Linked DNA regions of Homo sapiens: region 2 is linked to region 1. Evidence: promoter capture Hi-C in human tissues and cell types (Jung and others, 2019). All regions are on one chromosome and are shown on one strand. Each heading gives the region's core, a stretch centred on a gene start or on the middle of the fragment in contact. The rest is flanking DNA. Distances are from core to core; before and after follow the strand shown.

Evidence for each region. The method cuts DNA at HindIII sites, captures the fragments that hold promoters and counts their contacts. A contact is called where the count stands out against the background at its distance.
Region 2: a contact is called between a fragment that was not itself captured here and the fragment with the promoter of PCDHAC2 in region 1, in 1 of the 25 tissues and cell types used here (dorsolateral prefrontal cortex).

Annotation. Positions count from the first base shown.
Region 1 is chr5:140,963,472-140,971,032 of GRCh38, reverse strand. PCDHAC2 (protocadherin alpha subfamily C, 2) reads right to left here and starts at 4,557. Exons shown (of 4, transcript NM_018899.6): 1 at 1,702-4,557. The coding sequence starts at 4,266. The region is part of intron 1 of PCDHA1 (protocadherin alpha 1); the gene reads right to left. The region is part of intron 1 of PCDHA2 (protocadherin alpha 2); the gene reads right to left. The region is part of intron 1 of PCDHA3 (protocadherin alpha 3); the gene reads right to left. It also overlaps PCDHA4, PCDHA5, PCDHA6, PCDHA7, PCDHA8 and PCDHA9, and 6 more genes. The HindIII fragment of the contact is 4,896 bases long and covers 1,334-6,229 here.
Region 2 is chr5:141,002,581-141,010,141 of GRCh38, reverse strand. It overlaps PCDHA1 (protocadherin alpha 1), which reads right to left. Exons shown (of 4, transcript NM_018900.4): 4 at 1-515. The coding sequence ends at 205. It overlaps PCDHA2 (protocadherin alpha 2), which reads right to left. Exons shown (of 4, transcript NM_018905.3): 4 at 1-515. The coding sequence ends at 205. It overlaps PCDHA3 (protocadherin alpha 3), which reads right to left. Exons shown (of 4, transcript NM_018906.3): 4 at 1-515. The coding sequence ends at 205. PCDHA4 (protocadherin alpha 4) reads right to left here. Exons shown (of 4, transcript NM_018907.4): 4 at 1-515. The coding sequence ends at 205. It also overlaps PCDHA5, PCDHA6, PCDHA7, PCDHA8, PCDHA9 and PCDHA10, and 7 more genes. Among named protein-coding and RNA genes, the nearest start is that of PCDHAC2, 40 kb to the right of the region's middle. RefSeq lists enhancers at 5,246-5,838, 7,027-7,561. The HindIII fragment of the contact is 3,954 bases long and covers 1,529-5,482 here.

The DNA.
Region 1 (7,561 bases), core at 3,308-5,807:
CTTTCAAATGCTACGATCTAAAGACTTCTGGAAACTCTTTGATTTATTCCCCCATTTTTCTTAATCTACAATCTGCCTCCCATGGTTTCTCAGCATTGACTAACACCAGGCACTTCTGATAAATGAATAAATCTATCTGAAATGTCCATGAGAAAAATCTACTCTCAATCAGGAATGGAACTTTTGTGCCTGTGCATTACATTCCTCAAGATTACCATGAACTTGAAATGTAACAATATGGATATTACATACAATATGTATGTACAGCAATATGTCAATGAAAATATATTGCAAAAAATAGAGGAGAGACAAATATTGTTCACACATTGTGTAGTAGCTCTAAAAGCCCTTTCTACAAAGTAGTTATTTGGAAAGATAACAATTCATCACTATTTATGGTACAAAATTTTGGCTTTTGAAATCCAAGTTTTAAGTATCACAAAGCATATCTCTGTTATTTCAAGCATACATATGGAGACGAACACACAACACAAACACACACACATATTCATCTACTTTCTAATAATTTATGTACATTCTTCATAATAATGAACAAGCTGGCCTTATACCTACTTAAATCTCAAAACTAGTGCATATACTAACACCTGCCTCTACACCTTACTGTAGGGTAAGCCATCCACTTTCCAAGCCAGCCTTTTGAAGCTATAGCAAATCAAATTTTAGATCCAGAAAATGAATGCATGCTTTGGAAGTACTGTCATTTAACTTAAAGACATGAAGGACTTGAAAAGGCTACTTTACATCTCATCAAAACCATAGAAACTGTCAACAGAAAATCAGAAGATTACAGGCTGCATTTAAGCTAAATTCAGGGAAATCCTCTTACAATGAATTCAGAGTATGCCAAGAAAGGTGACTATTGGGAGAATTCTTTTTCCCTTCTCTTCCTTCTAATCCCAGCTTCTCTTGGTCTTCACCATCCCCCCACACCCCTAATCCACTCATTCTAATACCTCCCTGGACCAACCAGACAAATTGGTACTTAATCTCTCTGCCTCACCATCATCCACTCCCTCTGACAGCCCTCTACAGAAGAGTTGCCACATCATACAGCCAAAGCAAACTTTAGCTTCAGTATGATGTCTAAATACTACAGCTTTATCACTTGTGACATGCATTTCCAGAGGATCCTATCACATAGGTTCAGTGCAAGTACCAGAAATATTAACTAGATAATTTCCACTGTAGACAGTCCAGAGTATAAACAGAGACAGCAGATAGTGGTGACTATGATAGCCCCTAGAGGCCTCAGAGCTTTTTAAGAAACATCACTCATATAGGATTTCAAAAGAAAAATTTCCCTGTAGATGATACAGCAGAGGCCATTTCTCCTTGAGTCTCATAACATTACTCCCTAAAACATAATCCCTATTCCAAGGCCTGTCCTGTTTCTCTACAAATCTGTGTTTTAGCATTAAATATTAAGACTAATCCTCACTTCTCAAACAATTTTATGGACAAGGCTTCATGCCTCTGAAAATGAAAAATAAAACAATTCTTTAGTGCTATTTTTCTAGAGAGGAAATAGCAGATTATGATCAAATTGTGGATACTATATATACTCAGTTTACCAGATAACTCTTGTCACTGTTAATGACTCAATAAAGCCAAATCACAGGATATTGGGGGATGTGTAACAAATGCATGAGTTTGTAGAAGACCCCCTGACCACTGTCTCACCTCATTTTGAGAAACAGCCTCATTTTTGAGAATAATCAGGTTCCCAGCATTCTGACCACTTTGGCCTGTGAGATTCCTGCTGTCAGTCACTGCTGCTTGGGCTCCCGAAGGCCCTGGTCCTGTCTGGGCCCCTGTATTGTAAAACATGAAAGTGTCACTCCCTGAGCCTGCTGTCAGACAGGCCTTGTAGCAGTAGGTCTTGGTGAGGGAGCCATTCCCTCGAACTTCAATGAAGTGAGGCTGCACTTTGAGGCCATGCGGTATCCTGGCATCAATATTGTTGTTGGCTTGTTTGTACAGTTCTGCAGGGGACCTTTCCCTTACTCCACAGAAGCCTCCACAGCATGCAGTGCCATACGCAGTGTAGCGGTAGCACTTGATGATGCTCAAAATGATGATTGTCAAAAGAAATATAAAAGACACTGTGCTTAATGCTATTATTAGATAAAGGGTAATTTCAGAGTATGTCCGAGGGCTCTTAACATGCCTCTGAGTGTCAGGGAGGATTTTGGAAACCCTATCCACCACAGCTACTGTAATGGCCACAGAGGCTGATAGTGATGGCTCTCCATTATCTCGGACCACCACGGTCAGGTTGAAAGTGCTACCACTCTCATCTCCCATCTTCCTGGTAGTCCTAATTTCTCCTGTGTGCAGCTCTACCTTAAAGAGGTCCAGGTCAGAAGTCTGGGCTAGATGGTAAAAAAGCCAAGCATTTTGCCCAGAGTCTGAGTCCATAGCTATGACTTTGGTGACCAGGTAGCCAGCAGGGGCAGTTCGAGGCACCATCTCGAAGGCTGCTGACGAGTTGGTTGAGGTAGGGTACAGAATGTGAGGGGCATGGTCATTCATGTCCACCACATATACGTTGGCAGTCACAGTGCTGCTCAGTGGTGGGCTCCCCTTGTCCTGAGCCTCCACAGTCACAAAGAACTCCCGAAACTTCTCATAGTCAAAGGAGTTGACAGCATAAAGGCTGCCACTGGCACTGTTAATGGAGACATAGGAGGTGACTGGCAGCCCTTGAATCTCCCTCTCCAGAAGGGAGTAGGTCACCTCTGCATTCTCCTTTTCATCTGGGTCTGTGGCTTGCACAGTACAGAGCAACACACCTGGCAAATTGTTCTCCTGTATGTAGATGGAATAGGAGTCCTCCAGGAAGCTTGGTGGATTGTCATTGATGTCAGAGATCTCAACCTTCAGTGTACGCAGGGATGTGAGCTGCGGTATTCCCCCATCTGTGGCTGTCACCGTGATGTTGTAGACAGCCACCCGCTCTCGGTCCAGTGGGCCGCTCACCACCAGTGTATAGGAGTTTCCAAAGCCATTCAGTCGGAAAGGCAGTGTGGCCTCCAGACCCAGGCTCACTTTCCGGTTGGGGCCTGAGTCTTGGTCATTGACACTGAGAACGGCCACAATGGTGTTGGGTGTAGCATTCTCAGGCACTGGGCTATACAGGTCCGTGAGCACCACCTCTGGGGCATTGTCATTCACGTCCACGATGTCCACCAGCACCTTGCAGTGACCTGCCATGGGCACTGGACCCCGGTCAGTCGCCTGCACATAGATCTGGTAGGAGGAGGCTTCCTCATAATCCAGCCCCCCAATTACTCGCACTTCCCCGGTACTGGCATCTATGCTGAAGAGCTGCCTCTCCCGGTCCGACGTGTAGCTGCTCAAGGAGTACCTGAGCTCACCATTGGAGCCCTCATCCGGGTCTGAGGCATTCAGCTTCACCACCAATGTGCCTGGGGGTGAGTCCTCCCGTAGCTGGACGCGATAAGTGGACTGGTCAAAGGCAGGAGAGTTGTCGTTAGTGTCCAGGACACGCACAGAGATCTGTGCCGTACCCGAGCGGGCTGGGATGCCCCCATCCACGGCTGTGAGAACCAGGTGGTGCAAGGCTGCCTGCTCCCGGTCTAGGCCCTTACGCAGCACCAGCTCAAGCACTTTACTGTTCTCCTGCAGGGGCTTAAGGTCCAGCTCGAAGTGCTCGCTGGGGCTGAGCTCGTAGGTCTGTACTGAGTTGGCGCCCACGTCGGGGTCCTGCGCACTCTCTATGTGAAAGCGCGCTCCAGGCGCCACCGATTCGCTTACCTGAAGCTGGTAGTTGGGCCGCGGGAAACGCGGTGAGTTGTCGTTGATGTCCAATATTTCCACCTCAACGGCGCTCACCGCCACGGGGTTGTGCGCCAGCACTTCCAAGCTGAGCAGGCAGCGAGGCCGCTGCTCACACAGCGCCTCCCGATCAATGCGCTCGTTGACGAAGAGCGCTCCACTCGTCAGGTCCAGCTCCAGGTAGCGCGGACTGGGCGCACCCAGATGGTTGATGCGCAAGCAACCCGGCCCCAAGCGCCGCAGCTCAAGCCCCAGCGCGCGAGCCACGTTGCCCACGAGCGCGCCGGGTGCCTGCTCCTCTGGCACAGAGTATCGCAGCTGGGAGGCCGCAGGGCCAGGTAGCAGCAGCAGCAACAGCAGCAGGAGAGGCAGTAGCAGCAGCCAGGGCATGGGCCGCCGGAGCCGTGGATGCTCTGTCGCCGCAGGTCTGGTGCCCGCCTGCTCCATAGCCACTGGCCGCGGCGGAGGCAGCCGGGCAGGGCCGGAGGCGGCAGCTTCCCCAGCCGTGCCCCACGCCCGGGCCCCGCCTCCGCTCGTGCCACCCTGCGCCTGCTCCCCCACCGCTCACGCTCTAGAAAGCGCCTGGGGCCGCTCCCTCCGTAGGCCCTCCCAAGGGCTCCTGGCCCCACCGTCCTCGCTGACTCCCCATATTCCAGCTCCTCCGCTCGCCTCCGAGTCGCTCAACCCGGCTCGGCTTCCTGCTGCTGCTGCCGCTACAGCTCCAGGGGGAGGGAAAAGGAAACAGAAGGGAAGACAGAGGGGGAGGGGGAAAGGGAGCGGTAGGAGGGCTCAGCAAGTCCTGCTCTGATTCCGCGCCGAAGTGGCGGACAGCGAACCCGGACTGCTCAGCCTCTCCAGCCCCATCTCCTTCACCCTGGACCTGCCGGATCCCAGCGGACCGCAGGAACACGGCCACTCCCTTTCTCCCTACCCCCACTGTCCAGTTCATCCAGTCTCCACCGTCTCTCCCCTGCTTAACGGGTCTTTAAGGAGATTAGTCTGGGAAAAGCAGTCAAGCCCCTAGAAGTCTGGCTATCAGCTCCCCAGGAAAAGATCTCCAAGCGCAATTCAGGAAAATAAACTGAGGGGCCTTAGCTAAGTATGGGCACCCAGGCGGCGGATCTAACATTAAAAGGAAACAACGCAGGGGGAGGCGCTCTGGGGTTACTGGCGATGGGAACTATTCACCTGACTCCCACATCTTCCCTGGACACTCTTAAGTACTGCAGAAAGTGCTCAACTCCTAGGGCAAAAGGAGGGGGATGGCAAATGCTGCCCTCTTTCCGGGAGCAAGCCTAAAACCAGCATCCTGGGATCCAAGACTCAATTCTGCTCTCGGCCAAGTGGCCCTTATTTTCAGTGTGTGCCTTGGCAAATAACCAATATTTAAATGTTTAAAATGCTCTGTTTAAAAAAATAGTCTCCATGAAGCTGTAGGCAAATCTATTATTTGACCCATTTTGGCGACAATGGGGAAAATCTGGTAAAATTTTTAAAGAGATTCTTCTCTCAAGCTTTTTCTAATCTTGCTTCAAATCTTTTACATTTATCACCCAAGACATTTTCTTTCAAGAGTAATTTAAAATTTTTTCTTTAATGGATGACAATGTCTTCAAGAGTCTGCAAAACCATTAAATCAAGAGCGTTACTGTTGATCTCCTAAGCCAGGCTGGAATTTGGATTCCATTAATGCTTTGCAGTTAAAAAAAAAAAAAAATCTGCTGTCATTAAGCAAAATGTGGGAGTCTGGGATTTATCTTACAATAACCAGCAATTTCAATGACTGCAGCTTATCTTCCTTAAATATAAGACTCCTTAGACTTCTGTTCTTCTGTGTCCCCAAGTTTCCTCTTGTACTGCTATAGAGGCAACACAGAGACAACAAATTCACTTCAGTAAAAGAGAAGGTAGAAGGATCAGAGGAAATCTTTCCATGCTGTGTCATTGCCTCTGCTGCTCAGTTCTGAATATTCACTCTTCCCAGGTTCTCACATTTCTTCCACAGGAATTTGAAATCTATTGCCTCATGTGCAAAAAAAGCACTCACTAAAACGTCCTTTCTCTTCATCTCCCAGTATTCTGTCATCTGTAGATCTTCCTCTATGGGTCATTTTCTAGCTATGGACTGGAACAAAGTCAGAGTGAGACCTGACATTTGGCATGCTTCCCTCCTAGAGCGGACAGTTAAAGGAGCCAAGGTTGTGATCCTGACACCCAGAATTCAAAGGCCTGAACTAGCACATCCCTTCGTTCCACCAACCAAGCACACTCACTATCAATGCTCCACTACCTAGCCAGTGTTATTCCAGAGAAGCGCCCAGCCTCCTATCACTGCTGCTTCTTATTTGTCCTCTTTGTTTCCTCAAGGGTACAGAGTAGGAAGCAATTTTCATCAAAATCTATTCCTGTCTCCTTTCTTGGGTCTCTGGCTTCTTCCTCTTCTCTCTGCATCCTCCCCAAACATCCCTACAATAATTCTGTCTCAGTTTGCTGTGGTAATTTGATCTCGGAGGCCTTAATCTCTCAAGTGCACAAATTGTGGACCTGGCCTGTGTCCTCACCCATTACTTGTTTCTGAAAATAAATGGCTTATAAGTGGAATCAAGTTGTAAGTTGTCATGAAAAGTGATCTTTCCTCCCCTTATCTCCTCCCAGCCCTCCAAGTCGCTGCCATCTCTGCACGCAGCTCAGAGACCTGGCCACTGGGTATTGACCAGGCATAGACCTGTGACTGTGAAAAAATCATAGGCACTTAAGGAAGAGATTACAGTGGCAGAGGCTTGGTAATTTTTTAATGGAAGCCCCCAAATGTCATGTCTTGGGAGAAAAACCAGGACTCTCCTTTCAGCACTCTTGTCATCTTCCAGCAAGGACACCTGCCAGGTTGTCCATTATGCTGTTTTAGGCCTTGTAGGTATTTAGCTCCAGCTAGAATTTACTGCCTTAATTATTAAGGAGTCAAATATAAAGCCAACACAATCAGCCTCATTTTGAAAGACATTGTACTAAAGAGATGGTATACTCTATTTGGCACTATAATGATTTCGTTCCTCACACCATTATACTGAGGCTCCTGCCAACCTTACTAGTTGTTAGAATGTGATTGCTCAGACTGTTGTTAATTACCCTTTCTACAAATATTAACACTAATGCCTTGACCACACCATTATGCATTCCTTTCCTTGGACCTTCAAGAGCTCTCTATTAAAAAGTAGAACACAGTAATTAGGAATATAGACTTTGGAGTCAGTCACACTCCTGCCAGTGACTAACTGTTTGGCTATGGACATGTTACTTAGCCTAAGCTTCACTTTACTCATTTTAATTAAGGAAAACAATAGTAAGCAAAACTCATACGGTTATTATTATGATTACATGAGAAAATGTATGTAAAGCAATTTGCACAGTGACTAGTTAAGTACATTATTGTTGTTGTTGCTGTCGTCATGAAATACAACAATTTATTATCATCAGATAAAACCTTAGTTGGCAGTCTATATGTAGCATGGCCCTTTAGATATCAAACACGGATAAACACATTTAACTATGCCATATAGGAAATCAACCATGATAGGGAAGATGCGTATGCAACAAAGTTAAGCTTTCCCAATTACGTCTAGAACTATATCCTACATTTTGAGAACAAAACCAGAAAACAGCCCCTTTTTATATCATGAAGTAAATGGGACTTCTGTTATGAGAACCCCTTCAAGAGATTTGTTTCCTCACAAGAGATTTACCT
Region 2 (7,561 bases), core at 2,256-4,755, 40 kb before region 1:
AAAGAGTTAACACCAGACTTAGTAAAGCTTTTACGACAAAACCTGTTAAATGCGTTCTAGACAGACACAGGGAACTTTCTGCAGATTTCTGAGGTCTCTAAGAGGGCTCATGTAGATAGGAAAAAGGAGCAGGGAATTGCTACATGGGAGAGATTTGCCATTATTACAAAAACTGGCTAAGTGGCTTGTTTCCATTTGAGGACCTCACTGGTCACTGTTGTCAGTCGTGCTGTTCCCTTTCTCTTTTTTCTCCTGGGTCTTGTTACCCTTCTTCTTTTTCTTCTTTTTCTTGGTCTCCTCCTTTTTGCCGAAGGTTATGAAGTCACTTTTGTCAATTTGGCTGTTAGTAGGCTCCTGCCGGATGGAGATGATTGCAGGAGATCCTGGGATAATGAATTTGTCGGGCAACTCACCGGGACCGGATTGTTTGGGGTTGCCTGGTCCGTATTTAAAGGTCCAGCTGTTGCTGTTGACACCCGCACCGACTGGAGGGGACACTTCTCCTGCCTCTGGTTCTGAAAGACAAAACATTACAAATCATTAACAGGGTCAACACATGCTCTTGATGCCACACTGCTGGTAGAGTACAGGAGTACTGCATAGGCAGGCTGAACCTCCCCAGAAAAATCACGAGTTGTTTGTTCAAGTCTGAGGGCAAGGCAAGTGTTTACTTATTTATTTATTTGTTTAATTTTTTTGAGACAGGATTTCCCTCTGTCACCCAGGCTGAAATGCAGTCACTGCAGCCTCGACCTCCTGTGCTCAATCAATCCTCCCATCTTAGCCTCCCAAGTAGCTGGAACTACAGGCACAAGCTCCCATGCCAGGCTAGCTTTTTAAAAAAAATTTTATAGAAATGGGATCTCACTATGTTGCCCAGGCTGGTCTCAAACACTGAAGCTCAAGAGATCCTCCCACCTTGGCCTCCCAAAGTGTTGGAATCATAGACATGAGCTACCACACCCAGCCAAGGCCAGTATTTACAGACAAGCAAGAGGGCAGGTTTTTTCACCAGGATACCAAGAATCTAGTTTCATAGTAACATATGTTTGGTTCTTTGTGAAGAATTTCCTAAAGAATACAGTTGTGATTATCTTGACTGGGAACGGGATGGGAAATACAGAGCCTAAAGGCAAAATATGCTCCTTTTAGTGTCTAGATTAAACTTTGGCTATAAATGTATTAGGATGTCTATTTTGTCCAAAACAAGAAAAATTAGCTGAATAAATTATTTGATCTTAATTTTATTGTAATAACATTGAAGGGTGGTGGGATGCAGCATGGAAGAGATGGGAATACACAGCGTAAGAGGATGGAATCCTGTTGTAAATTGAGCCTATTTGTTTAGATAAAACACTGGGAGCCAATTTTACTTTCCAAGCCAAATTCCTTCCCTCAGTGTGCTCACAGTCTAGTTGGACATACACTCAAGCAACTAGAAACCAACTTAATACATGCAATAACTAAAGTATATGTAAAGTATTGTGGGACTCCAGAAGAAGAAATTGTTAATTATACTTGAGAAAGTTAATGGGGTTCCAGAGGAGGTGAAATCTGCCCTGAGTCTTGGGAAAATGATTATGCATCCACAGGAGTTTTCAATAAAAGACATTCCCAAGAGTCTGATTGGAAGACACACCATAAAGTATACCAGTGACTTCTAGAAGAGTAGAAGTCAGAGCTGGAGAGGAAGGGTAATGGTCTGTCTGGGCAAAGTGATCCCAGTGGCCATGACATTGGAACTCTGACATCATAGCAATGTTTATGTATCTAACACTGCTCCTTTGGTTGACACGTGAAAAGCTCCATCAAATAAACTGTTTATGTTCAATTACAGTTTAGGGTTGGGTACAACTGCTATTTCAATTTCCTATTACTTCTCAGTCTCCTCTAATTTGGTGTCCCTGAGCAGTAATTTTCTAACATAACTCATGTCAAGTTCATTATATTACTTCCACAATCAATGGTCACATTTTAGTCCTCATCTTATCAAACCTCTCAGCAGCATTTGTCATCCCCTTCTTGAAACACTTATTCTCATGAGTTCTTTGTCATGTAGAATAACCCCAATAAGTTCTTAGATGGACTGGACCCCTGTTACAAAAGGCAGATTAACAAGAAAAAAAAGGAAACAGAAGTTTATTAACATGTACATTTCATATATACATGACAGACACCCAGAGAATGAGCAGTTCTCAAAAAGGTGGCTTAGAATTCCAGCTTATATAGCATCTTCAACAAAGAACAATAAATTTTTAAAGAAGTGTAAGACAAAGGAAAAGACCTTTAAGGACTTTGAGTCTCTAATGGGTAGCTACTTGGGGGAAGGCAAATGAATGGCAGATAAAGGCTAATTTGTAAAGCAGTACCATTTCCAGGCCAATAAGAGTCCAAAGTTATCTTCAGTGGTTAACCTTTGTTCTCCCTGGTGGTGGGAGGCAGAGGAGGGAGGTGGAAGTAGGATAACTTTTGTCTTTGTAAATTTATGGTTTTTTAGGCAAATACAGGGAGGGCAGAAGACCTCTCCTATATCTGCTTCTTTTATTATTATCATGATTATTATTTTTTAAATTTGAGATAGAGCCTTGCTCTGTTGCCCAAGCTGGAGTGCAGTGGCGAGATATCAGCTCACTGCAGTCTCTGCCTCCTAGGTCCAAGTAATTCTCGTGCCTCAGCCTCCTGAGTAGCTGGGACTACAGGCACATGCCACCATGCCTGGCTAATTTTTTTTTTTTTTTTTTTTTTTGTATTTTAGTAGAGATGGTGTTCCATCATGTTGCCCAGGCTGGTCTCGAACTCCTGAGCTCAGGCAATCTGTCCACTTTAGCCTCCCAAAATGCTAAGATTACAGGCATGAGCCCACTGCACCCAGCCTGTATCTGCTTCTTTTAACTTGCCTTCAGCTCAACAATCCTTCTTATTTTGGGACAGCATATTCTGGCCCCCACCATCAAAACATTCTCCTGACCTTTCTCTCTGACTGTTCTTTGACAGTTTCCTTTGTCAGTCTCCTCATCTGTGTGTTGAAGCTTCCTTGGGTTTGGCCCTAGACTCTCTTCTCTATTTTCTCTTCACTCTCTCCTTTTGGGATCTCAGCCATATCCATAGATATAAATACCATATGAATAAGCTGATGAGATGCAGACTTATATTTTAAGCCCACATCTCTCTGTGCTCCAATCTCATGTATAACTGCCTATCTGGTATCCCCAGTTGGAAATCTCATGGGCATCCCAAACTGAAGAAATCTGAAATCAAACTCTTGATTCCTCGAATCTATTCCTTTCTAAATCTTTCCAGTTTCAGTAAATTACACCCCATTTACCCCATTTCTCAAGCCAGAAAGTTCAAAGCTAATTATTCATTTTTCTCTATTCTATTCTTCATTCTCCATTTATAATACATCATCAAGACCTGTCATTTCTGCCTCCTAAATATATCTTGACTCTGTCCTCTTCTCCCAATTTTCACTGCCACCACTCTTTCAGGACACCATCATCTCTTATATGAATTGCAGCAATAGTCTCCTTATTCAGTCTGCTTCCACTTTTGCTTCTCTCCAACCCTCCACACAGTAGCCAGAGTCATCTTTATTTCTTAATGTCTCTCTTTAAAAACTGATGTATAACAGCCAGGCGCGGTGGCTCACACATGTAATCCCAGCACTTTGGGAGGCCGAGACAGGCAGATCTCGAGGTCAGGAGATTGAGACCATCCTGGCTAACACAGTGAAACCGCGTCTCTACTAAAAAATAGAAAAAACTTAGCCGGGCGTGGTGGTGGGCGCCTATAGTCCCAGCTACTCAGGAGGCTGAGGCAGGAGAATGGCATGAACCCGGGAAGTGGAGCTTGCAGTGAGCTGAGATCGTGCCACTGCAGTCCAGCCTGGGCAACAGAGCAAGACTCCATCTAAAAATAAAAAATTTAAAAAAAAATGAGGCATAACATACATATAGCAAACTCTTTTAAAAATATAAATCAGATTATATCACTCCTCTGCTTAAGCTTTCTACTGCCTTGAGAAAAAAAAAAAAAACTCCTTACCATGATACATAAGTCCCTTCAATAATCTGATTTTTATTTCTTCTCCACTCTCATCTACAAATCTCCCTCTTACTATTATACTCCAACCATACAGGCCTTCTTTCAGATCCTCAAACACTCTTTGGAATTGTTTTTTTATTGTTGTTTGTTAGAGATAGGTTCTCACTCTGTCAACCAGGCTGAAGTGCAGTGGTGCAATCATTGCTTGATGTAACCTCAAACTCCTGGACTCAATCGACCCTCCTGTCTCAGCCTCCCAAGTGGCTGGGACTACAGGCCACCATACCTGGCTCCTTGGAGTTGTTTTTGCCTCAGGATCTTTACACATCTGGTTTGCTTTTGTCTTGAATGATTTCTCATCCATTCTTTTTTTTTTTTTTTTTTTTTTTTTTTTTTGAGACGGAGTTTCGCTCTGTCGCCCAGGCTGGAGTGCAGTGGCGCGATCTCGACTCACTGCAAGCTCCGCCTCCCGGGTTCACGCCATTCTCCTGCCTCAGCCTCCTGTGTAGCTGGGACTACAGGCACGCGCCACCATGCCCGGCTAATTTTTGTATTTTTAGTAGAGACGGGGTTTCACCGTGTTAGCCAGGATGGTCTCGATCTCCTGACCTCATGATCCGCCCGTCTCGGCCTCCCAAAGTGCTGGGATTACAGGCGTGAGCCTCTCATCCATTCTTAGCATGACTCCTCACTCTTCAAGTCTGTATTAAATGTAACCTCCTTGGAAAGGCATTCTATGACATTCCTAGCCAAGCAGCACCCCCTTGGCCTATTATTCTCTACCACTGTAAGATTCACAAAGGCAAAAAATGTATCTGTTTATTCACCAATGTATCACCAGTGCCTAGCACAATTCCTGGCCCATAACAGGTGTTTAGTAAATACTTGCTGGATGAATGAATGAAAGGACTGATGTGAGAAGTGAAAGTGGTACCCACTCTTTAGCAGACCAAACAACTCTCCAATGAGGCACTTTTGGGGTCCCTAAAGACAATGATGTAATGCATGTAAAGTACTAAGCTTGATCCTTAGCACAATGCAAGAATTCAGTAAATGGTATCACATATGGGCAATTATATATAATGCAGCTCTCAGGGCTTAGGAGACCAAGATAATGATACTGCAAATTTACAGCAGGCAGTGACGAGAGAGGGTAAGAAATTTTCTTCTCTCTTCCAAACCCTTTTCCTTACACCCTGGCAGAGCTGACACAATAGCACTTTAGGGATGAGAAACAAATTTTTTCTCTGAGACTAATGACTTTGATCTATCTAAGTTAATCAAATCTGCAATTGAGCTCAGCCAGAATCTGCCTGTTTACCTTTAAAATACAGGTCCTGTCTCTAAGAGACTGAGACAAAAGAGAGAAATGTATTTAAAAACCTCTGATTCGGCACCTAAAACTGGGTTTCAGCACCACTCCACAGTCCTTTAGTTGCCCTCAGAGCCCAAAATGGAAATTTTTCTTCAACCATAACCAGGACTCTGCATGAGGCCTAAGCACTGTCATCTGGAGATGCAGAACACAGAGATATGTTCATCTTGCACAGTTAAAGGACATTAATGGCTGTGTGTATTGGCAGAGGGAGCCCCTCACAGCAGGACTGCCAAGAGTTAATCCACTTTAACATGTCACTGAGCTTCCTGGTTCTATATGACTCAGCCTAAACTCCAGGAGGCAGAGATCTAGTCAGGTGCCTCCTCCACATGTCCAGCTTCCGCAGAGCAGAACAAGGTGTGGTCTCTCCAGTCCCTCACAGACCACTGTGCCTCACCTGTTCTGGTTGTTGTATAAAACAAACATCTCTGAGAGCTCAGCAGCATGTAGACTGTGACTCATTCCAGTAAAACAAAAGCTTAAGGATCTGACAAACACTGACTGACCTCCTAATCTGAATTCCTTTTGGTTAAGAGCACTCAAGACACTTGGCTGGCTTTGCCTATAAAATGTCATGCCTTTGGGGCAGAATCATGGAGATACTCCCTTTTGAAGAAGATGAAAACGGAAGAAGCACATTTCTACCCCTAACCCCAACCAGGGGCCAGTATCAGCAAATGATCAATCAAGGAAATGTTTCTTCTTTCAGTGCTGCCTCCTTTCCCTTCTAGGATCTCCGGCAAGTCCCCTCCCTTATGCTCCCAGGGTCCTAGCTCACCCTCAGGCAAAGACAAGACTGAGGATGCAGTCAAGACCCAAATGAATGGGCCTGTTAAGAGGCTAGAAGGAGGATTTCAGACACATATAAATCTGGTAGGGGTCTGAATCGTTAGGCAGAGCCCTTCCCAGACTACAGATTACAACCCAATAGGATTTAAAAGTTTATTTAACAGAATACGACCATAATTATACAAAATATGGTTTTGCTTTTTTATTGGATTAGCCGATATCTTCACAATTGGTAGGGATATATTTTAAAATCAGAACAACATATATTTTAATAAATGCATACAGATCTTCACTTCTACTTTAAAAACTGCCCTCTGGGGCCGGGAATGGTGGCTCACATCTAAAATCCCAGCACTTTGGGAGTCTGAGGCAGGTGGATCACTTGAAGCCAGGAGTTCAAGACCAGCCTAGGGAACATGGTGAAACCCCATCTCTACTAAAACTATAAAAATTAGCGAGACTGTGGTGGTGCACGCCTGTAATTTCATCTACTTGGGAGGCTGAGGCATAAGAATCACTCGAACCCGGGAGGCGGAGGTTTCAGTGAGCTGAGATTGCACCACTGCACTCCAGCCTGGGTGACAGAGCAAACAAACAAAAAACCCTGCCCTCTGGAAGTAGCTGGCCACTTCATGTAATCCTATAATCCAATTTGGGCACTTCCCTTAGGCACTGCCCAGGAATCTTTTTGGCAAAATTTCCAGCTTTCCTCTTTCATGCTAAACTAACCCTGGCTGCCTGAGTTGATGGAGTTGAGCCTCAGGGACTAGGATTGATCAGGTCAGAGTCTTTGCCAAGGCAAATGCCAGGAAAGGGCCAGAAGATTGTGAAGCAAATGCCAGGCCTGTTAAACTCACCCTCATCTGCATTTGGAACTGTTCTGTTAAGGCCAGGAGGGCTTTTCTGATTTACACTGACTTTCCCTAATAGAACATAAACTCATTTTGACCAAGGATACTATTTTCAGGAAAGCTCTCAGAGGGGCATGTGCTGGAGGGTGTTGGAGGGTGTTCACTTTTCTGATCTTCTCTTCATCTTGCTTTGTTCTCTTTCTGTTCTTGAGGACTTGCCCTGGTTCTCTCACTAGTGCATAGTCCTGGGCCATTTACATAAATATCTCTGAGCCTCAGTTTCCTCATCCATAAAATGGAGATGATCCCCTTCCTGTCTACATCACAGGGTTGTCGATGTAGTTAACATTTACTGTGCCCTTCCTATGTGTGTGCAACAGAGTTAAACAAATCTGCACGTCGTATAGGTTTTGGTCCTGACAAGAGCCCTATGAAGTAGACATTTCTAGTATCTCTGTCTGTGTTATGTGTCTGTTTTATAGATGAGGGGACTAAGGAC